2 separate regions of the Homo sapiens genome follow, and region 1 is linked to region 2. Evidence: promoter capture Hi-C in 16 types of primary human blood cells and fetal thymus (Javierre and others, 2016). All regions are on one chromosome and are shown on one strand. The core of a region is centred on a gene start or on the middle of the fragment in contact, and the rest is flanking DNA. Distances in the headings are between cores, read along the strand shown.

Evidence for each region. The method cuts DNA at HindIII sites, captures the fragments that hold promoters and counts their contacts. A CHiCAGO score of 5 or more calls a contact.
Region 1: a contact is called between a fragment that was not itself captured here and the fragment with the promoter of UBE2L6 in region 2, in 1 of 17 cell types (neutrophils). The highest score is 9.0, in neutrophils.

What each region holds. Positions count from the first base shown.
Region 1 is chr11:57,825,782-57,830,308 of GRCh38, forward strand. No RefSeq gene overlaps it. Among named protein-coding and RNA genes, the nearest start is that of CTNND1, 66 kb to the left of the region's middle. The HindIII fragment of the contact is 5,724 bases long and covers 1-4,527 here.
Region 2 is chr11:57,566,309-57,570,380 of GRCh38, forward strand. UBE2L6 (ubiquitin conjugating enzyme E2 L6) reads right to left here and starts at 1,364. Exons shown (of 4, transcript NM_004223.5): 1 at 1,277-1,364. The coding sequence starts at 1,303. RefSeq lists an enhancer at 1-114 and a silencer at 1,368-1,727. The HindIII fragment of the contact is 19,025 bases long and covers 1-4,072 here.

The sequences.
Region 1 (4,527 bases), core at 731-3,230, 260 kb after region 2:
TAGGTGCTTAAGTGTTAGGACCTTTAGGAATGATTCTTGCAAAAGTGAATGTTAAAGGCTTAGAGATTACTATGGCACGCCCACATGGAAGCATCTGTTTATTCTGGTAGTGCTTGTGACAACACATAGACTTCTCAGAACCAAGATGAGAAAAGACATCCTCACAAGATATCAAGGTTTTTCTGTGTGTCTGAAACCTCAAGAGATAAAGGAGTAATCTTTGGGCATGAGAACCCATGAGAGATATGAAGGGATTTAATTGAATGAAAGAATGAATAAAAAGCTACATACATTTATTAAGTATTTTGTTGTATGTTAGGCCCTATACTGGTGATAGACAGACATGTAGTGAGCACATGTCCTCAAGGAACATTTGGTAAATTACTCCAAGGGCAAAGGGTTTCAAGCAGTGAAGTCCTTAGATCACTAGCTATAGAGAAGAGTATGGAGAAGAAAAGACTGGATGATCAGAGGAAGCTGCAAGATTCTAGGCAAGGGATAATGGTGGCTTAGACTAGGTCATATAGTATAGAAAGAAAAGAATATTTCCAGTTCAGTAATGTTAACAGGTAATATTTAGCGCTGTGTGAAACTTTCTAAGTACTTTGAATATATTGACATTTAATCACACGAACCCTATACGTAGGGGAATGACATGAACATATATAATAGTAGCAAATATTTTGGGGCTAACCTTCGTGCTAGGCTTCACATGCTCTGTCACCCAGGCTGGAGTGCAGAGACTGTGATCTTGGCTCACAGCAACTTCCACCTCCCAGATTCAAACAGTTCCTGCCTCAGCCTCCCAAGTAGCTGGGATTACAGGCATGTACCACCACATCTGCTTAATTTTTCTATTTTTAGTAGAAATGGGGTTTTACCATGTTGGCCAGGCTGGTCTTGAACTCCTGACTTCAGGTGATCTGCCTCCCTCGGCCTCCCAAAGTGCTGGGATTACAGGCATTAGCCACCACACCCAGCCATATATGCATTATTCTTGTTTAATATTTTCCACAACTCTGTGATTCTCCCCATCTTATAGCAGTTAAGTAACTTGCCTTAGGTTACACTCAGTGACAAAGGTTAAACATTTTTTTGTTTTTGATCAGATTTGTTTGATTAGAAATGCTGTGGGTTTTTCTTTTACTACTAACATAAATTGCTTCAGAAGGTAGAATTGGTAGAACATAGGGTGAGGAGAAGAGTTGAGAAGAACATAGGGTGAGGAGAAGAGTTGCCTGGGCAACATGGTGAAACCCTCTCTCTACTAAAAATACAAAAAATTAGCTGGGTGTGGTGTCATGGGGCTTCTGGTCCCAGCTACTTGGGAGGCTGAGGTGGGAGGATGGCTTAAGCCTGGGAGGCAGAGGTTAGAGTGAGCCAAGGTCATGCCACTACACTCCAGCCTGGGTAACAGAGTGAGACCCCATCTAAAAAAAGTAAAACAAAAAAGGAATGATTTTCTGATATCTGGGTGATATCAGCCACTGATTGAGACAGGAAACAGTGGCAAGTAGAAGGATATGTTGGAAGAGAAAAATTTAGTTACAAGTAAAGTTCGAAGTGATTGAGGAACACTGAAGTGGAAGTATCCAATAGGCAGCTGGATATGTGACACTAGGGCTCAAAAGAGGCCTGGATTCTGAATACAGATTTGACGGTCTACTTTAAGCAATGTACTTTAAGCTATAAGAGTATATGAGATGGCCCAGGGAGTGTAAGTATGAGAAGAGTGGAGAGTTTAGATCTGAACCCTGTTGGTACATAAATATTTAAGAAGGGAAAGGAGACCCTGAAAGACTAGGGAACTAGTCTGATTTAGGAGAATATTTTTGTTTGTTTTTAAATTTTCTTTTTTTTCTTTCTTTTTTTTATTTTTTGAGAGAGAGTCTCACTCTGTTGCCCAGGCTGGAGTGCAGTGGCGCGATCTCAACTCACTGCAACCTCCTCCTGGGTTCAAACAATTCTCCTGCCTTGGCCTCCCAAGTAGCTGGGATTACAAGTGCGTGCCAACAAACCTGGCTAATTTTTGTATTTTTAGTAGAGACGGGGTTTCGCCATGTTGGCCAGGCTGGTCTTGAATTCCTGGCCTCAGGTGATCCGCCCACTGTGGCCTCCCAAAGTGAGGCTTGAACCACCACACCCAGCCTGTTTGTTTTTTTTAAGAAGCCAATGCTGCTTCCCATTGCAAAGTAACTAACAAAAAAGTAGGGTTTGCTTTGATCTGTTTCATCGTTGGAGGATATTTAATTTTTCTTCCAATCTTCCTACAATATTTGGATCTTTGGGGTCTGGAACCCTAGAGAGCATGGATTCAGTCTTCCATTTAATTCTCCTTCCCTCTGGTATAAAACCAGGATTCAGAATCCAGAAAGGCCACCTTACCGATTGGGCAAAATGGGCAATAGTTCCAGTTCTTCCCACCATCAGGCCTGTGTCTGACTGTCCTGCCTCATCCTGTTCTCCCTACTCCTCTCTTGCTTGTCCCTTGATCCCTCTCTTTCTTTGCTTTCCTCTTCATTTATTTCCACTAGTTCTCTAGTTGCTTCCACTCCAGACCTCTACGACCAGGCAGCCTATCAAGAATTACAAATCTGGTTTTATTTCTCCTGCTCAAAAGTTTGTCCCTCAAAGAGTGGTTAGCATAGCCAATAGGGCACAGCCATATTCCACCCTGTGACTTATAGGAGGAAGCTACTTCATGTGAGGTGGTCCCCCTTGGTGAGTCCTTCCTGCAGAGCAGAGATTGCCAGCTTACTTAGGGTAGTCCTGAGTCCTGGAGGACTGACAGGACTGACTAAGAACCCATATACTCCTTTACTCTGTCTGCTTTTGTCCCTTACTCTGATTCCAACAGACTCATTGCCACATAAACCCAGGCTTTCAGGGGTCAGATGGGACCAGTGCGGGCTGGGGATTTCTCCTTATTGAGCAGCTCTCTACCTATAAGGCCAGTAAAATACCAAGTACAGAGCATAGTAGGTGCTGAACATAGGCGTACATAGTAACCACTAGTGATAGTTGAGATAATGAATGAGTGTCCTTTGCTGGCAGAGCCCATCACCAGCCAGGAGTCTCCACCTCCAGCAACAGTGGAGTGGACCTTCAGCACACACCCCAACCCCACCTTGCCTCACCCTGACCCCATTCTGCCTCATAGATCGATTATTTTTAATATTTTGGTTTAAATTAAAAGACCCTATATGACTTTTTAAAATAACATGATTTAACACGGCAGATTACGGAATTAAAATTCTTGCCTCTCTTTTATGTCACTCCCCAGGAATAACTACTCTTAACCATTTGTTACATATCCTTTCAGATATCTTTCTCCAAGTGCTTATTCAACAAAGACTTCTTTTTTATTTTTTATTTTGAGACAGAGTCTCGCTCTGTCGCCCAGGCTGATTTCCGCTCACTACAACTTCTGCCTCCCAGGTTCAAGTGATTTTCCTGCCTCAGCCTCCCAAGTAGCTGGGATTACAGGTGTGGGCCACCATGCCCGGCTAATGTTTGTTTTTAGTAGAGATGGGGTTTCTCCATGTTGGCCAGACTGGTCTCGAACTCCTGACCTCAAGTGATCCACCTGCCTCAGCCTCCCAAAATGTTGGGATTACAGGTGTGAGCCACCATGCCCAGCCACAAACATTTATTTCTAATGGAATGTATGATGTACATATTCTGCAATTTTGTTTTTTTCCCATAAAGCATGTCATGGACATCTTTCTACCATAGTGCATATTAGTCTTCCTTGTTTTCCTCGTGATTGCCTATTTTACCATTATAAGTCTGTGCCATTTTAGACCTGGTATCTTCCTGCTTCTGGGCAATCTTTTTGTGGCCAACATGGAAGTCTATAGCCCACTTAGGAGACATTTTTCCCAGTATGGAACCTCAGTCCAGAGCCCATGATCCTGTGGTTAGGATGAGCAGACAGTATGGCCGCTTTGCCCCCTCTCTGGACAATTCAGCCTTATCAGCCTCCAACTCACTTCCCCAGAGGATTTGGAAATATGCTTCCTACTGCTCTGTGCCCCTGGGCAGAGATGCTAAGTATCCTGTCCACCCCTTCCTTCGGAACATAACACAGAGGATTTTTGGCTTTTTAAACCTGCATCTTATCTGAAGGTAGGGATTGCTCTGCCTGCCATCCCAAAGCCTACAGTCCTGACACTGTGAAATGAGTGCAGAGGAAGGAGGTGGAATGCAGTTGGCTTTGAGTCCTAGCCAGCCGTTTGAAGGCTACAGCCTGCTTCTAACTTGTTTCTGATGGAATTCCCAGGAATGACCCTGGCTCAACCTGATTCTCATCATGTCTTCTCTGTACTTTGGAGAAATCAGGTCCCAAACTCTCCTTTCTGGGCCTCTCTAATGTCTGACTGTGGACATTCAGTATCTCAGCTCTGACTTCGCCTTTACTTCCTGTAGAGTGTCTTGAATTCTGGTAACTCATATTCTTGTGATGGTACCTCATTGCCAGTTGCTTTGTAACCTGCATTCCATAGTGTTGCTTACATGAAACTGACT
Region 2 (4,072 bases), core at 114-2,613:
GAGGAACAGAAAATGAAAGTAGAAAGGCCATTAAGAGAGCCTGCAGGCTGGAGGCCTGTGGACCTGGTTTCATATTCCAGTCCCATTGCTCCTTACTGAAAGACTCTGGACAAGCAAGTTATTTCCTCTGTGCCTCAATTTCCTCATTTGTAAAATGCGGGTATATATTACTTATCTCACAGAACTGCTGTGCGAATTAGATGAAATAACCATGTAAACCGTTTGGCATGTAATGGTTCCAATGCAATAAATTCTGGCTCCCATCTCTCTTCCACTTGGCTGGAAAGACCCTCTGCCTCATTTTGCTGCCAACCTCCAGATTTAGTATCTAGGCCAAGCCTGCTCTGGGCATCCCAGTCTGAGGCCATTTTCTTCTCAGAGGCTGAGGGTAGCAGGCACCCTCTTCCTAGAGCCTGCCCCTCCACCCTGCAGACTGGAAGGGGCACTTCTGAAAGACTTGGGGTGCCAGACTCACTTCACCAGGATCACCTTCCTCCCTAATCCATCTCCAAACACCCTGGGTTTTCCCACCTTCTGGAGGAAACTGCCCCCTCCCCATCCTTCCAGATCTTATTTCAAATTGTGTCCCTGATAGGAACAAAATTCAACAAGGGCCGGATTTGTGTTCATCTCTGCCCGCCCCCCCCCCCCTCCTAGAACAGGGCCAGCACATGTAGGCATTCAACACTTGTAGAACTCACGAACGCAAGCCACCTACTCCAGGAGGCCTTCCAGGTCCACCTCCGCATCTTTTCCTCCAGAGAATACTCAGGGAACTTTGTCCCAAATTCTAATCAGCATTCCGTGTTTCTCAGGACTCTAGTAATACAGGCATCAAATTATGGGATGGGCTATGGGCTTATTCCAAGGCAAGGACTTCATCCTGGTCATCTGTGTTCATAACCCACCACCAGCAGTAGCAGAATGCCTGGCACCAAGATGCCAAGGACTTTTCCTGCACTGGAGATGCACCCAGTTGTTATCACAAGTTTCAGGCAGGAAAAGCGAAATTGAAACCAGTTTTGGGGGAGCCGGCTCATCTTCACCACGCGAACGGCTCAAGCAGAGGCCTCCAAACCCCCAAAACCCCAGCTCTGGCCACTCTTGCAGGCCAGTCCTCCTCTGAGTAGAGGGCGGGGAGGACAGGGATTCAGCCAGCCCTGGTGCCCAGACAAATAAATAAATGTGCTCGGAGAGCCGCGGAGGGGATGGAGGGAGGAGGGAATGCGGGAGGCGAGGGGAGCCAAGAGAAAGGGGTCATCCTATACGCGGTTACCTTCACCACTCGCATGCTCGCCATCATGTCGGGACCGAGTGTGTGGCACCCGTGGCCTCCAGCAGGACCGAGCTCCGACCCGCGACACAGCGCGCCCCGCCCCGCCCCGGGGACCCCACCCCCGGCAGCCCCGCCCACCCCTCCTCCAGCCGTCGCTGCGTGGGCCTCCCCGCACCCGCTCCGGCGAGGCCAGGAGGCCGTCGAAGGACGACCCGCCGGACAACCGCCCGATCCCCGCGCGGAAGGCTCGGACCCGGGACTCACGGTCTTTGTGCGGAGACGGGGGCGGGCCTCGGGGCGCACGGCTTTGCTGATCCCTGCCTCCCGCGGGGTGCGCCGTGCACCGGCGGCGAGCGCTCAGGGGCGCTGGGGGGCGCTCATACGGGTTCCAGTCTTCGCTCCGCCGGCGGCCGCACCGGGAGCTCTCCGGTCTTTGTCAGCCCCCTGCACGCCGCCCCAAATACACACTCGCCCTGAATAAATAAGGGATGCTCGCTGTACAGACGCAGCTCCGTGACAGTTCTCAGCGGCCTCCACTATCGGACTGCCGCCTTGAGCCCCTGCCCCAGCAAGCTGCCGGAGCCGCCGAGCCTGCCGCCTTCCCTCCATGGGCCCAGCGCTCCATCTCCGAAACTGCGTGGGGGATGGCGTAGACCTGTGCCCTCCGAGCACCGCTCCCCGGCAGTCGGGGATCCTTTGTGCTGCCCGGCGTTCGGCGCGGGCTGCAACGTTTCTCCCCGTGGCTTGGGGCAGAGCACCGCAAGGAGGCGCTGTTGGACCCTTTCTCTTTTGCTTTGGGGGTTCGGTCTACCATCATTCAGTCCTTTACTAGGTTTAGTATTTACTAAGTGCCTACTGTATGCTGGTTTGGGAAACAGTTGGTGGGGGAAGCCCCAAGAAGGACTCAGGAGCCTCCTTTCCAAGAGAGAGTCTGCTTCCCCTCCCTTACTTTACTACTGGTCCATTACAAGCTGTGGGCCTAATGTGTGCCCCCATGCACAGCTGGAGTCCCCAACCCTCTGTGCAAGGACAGAGTACTTGCAGCCCCTGAGCACCAAGCAGCATCTGGGGAAGATGAGACTTGTTGGGAGGGCCGATCCCCTCCTTCTCACCCTTCCCTACCCCCGTTTAGTCCAGACGAGAAAGGAAATCAGTATATTTTGAGCACCAGTTTGTGATCTCAGTACCTCACAGTTTTTTTGTTTCTTGTTTTTCTGACAGAGTTTCACTGTCGCCCTGACTGGAGTTCAGTGGCGATATCGGCTCACTGCAACCTCCGCCTCCCGGTTCAAGCTGTTCTCGTGCCTCAGCCTCCTGAGTAGCTGAGATTTACAGGCGCGCGCCACCACGACCGGCTCATTTTTGTATTTTTAGTAGAGTCAGGGTCTCGAGCTCCTGGTTTCAAGTAATCCACCCGCCTCGGCCTCCCAAAGTGTTGGAATTACAGGCGTGAGCCACCGTAATGTTTTTATCCAAGTATTTTGAAACCAAATGACTTCTCTGCTCAGATTTTGCAGAACGATTAATTGTTTCATTCAATTCAATGAACTTTAACAGCATTTTCTATATGCCCGAAATGAATAGGACACTCCGTAATCCCTTAACAGGGGTAGAGATGAGGGAACAAAGACATTCGAACCTGCCTGTGATCAATAGTCTCAGTCAACAAGCGCCTACTACTGAGTGGCAGGCATTGCCAATAGGAAACACCAGGATGAGAAAGGGGAGTCCCTGCTCCTGAGGAGTTAGTTCCCAGACTACTGGGACAGAGGGAGAGAATGCAGCCCCTGATTTTTAATGATAATGCTATAGAGAATCACCTGGTACTCTGGGAGTATGAGGAGGGTCACTTTATCCCTCTTCAGGGAGGGGCAGAGGTTTCCCGGAAGAGAGAAAAATCCAAGTGTATTGTGAAACATGATGAGTCAGCGAGAAGTAAGAGCGTGGGATGAAGATGTTCTAACAAGAGGGAACAGCATGAGCAAACGGGGCAGTGTCTATGGAAACTGGAGCAAAAGCCTCTGTCCACGTATCGTAGCTCTCCTTTTCTTTTCTTACAGGAACGCTGCATCCCGAGGTGAATTAACAGTCATGGATATAGCTGGGTCCTAAGTCCCCACACAGTGGGGCAGCCCACTGGTGTGCCTTTCATGTCCTTTCACAATGCAGACCTTTGTGTGTCAGAACAAGCCCCAGGGAGACCTGGGTTCTAGTTCCACATCTGCCCCCATGTGCAGTTATGGCCTTGGGTGGTCGGCGGAAACTCCTATCTGCTTGCCAGGACCATTGTGAGGCTAAGCTGAGGGAAGTGGAGGAACTTAGAATATTGTAAGTCGCCGGGCGCAGTGGCTCACGCGTGTAATCCCAGCACTTTGGGAGGCCGAGGCAGGCGGATCACCTGAGATCAGGAGTTCGAGACCAGCCTGACCAATATGGTGAAACCTCGTCTCTACTAAAAATACAAAAATTAGCCGGGCATGGTGGTGGGTGCCTGTAATCTCAGCTAGTCAGGAGGCTGAGGCAGGAGAATCGCTTGAACCCAGGAGGCAGAGGTTGCAGTGAGCCAAGATCACGCCATTGCACTCCAGCCTGGGGGACAGAGCAAGACTCCGCTCAAAGAAAAAAAGAAAAGAAAATTCTAAGTCCGAGGCCTGGCATGGTGGCTCATGCCTATAATCCCAGCACTCTGGGAGGCCAAGGCAGGCGGATTACCTGAGGTCAGGAGTTCGAGACCAGCCTGGCTAACATGGCGATACCTCGTCTCTACTAAAAACACAAAAATTAGCCAGGTGTAAT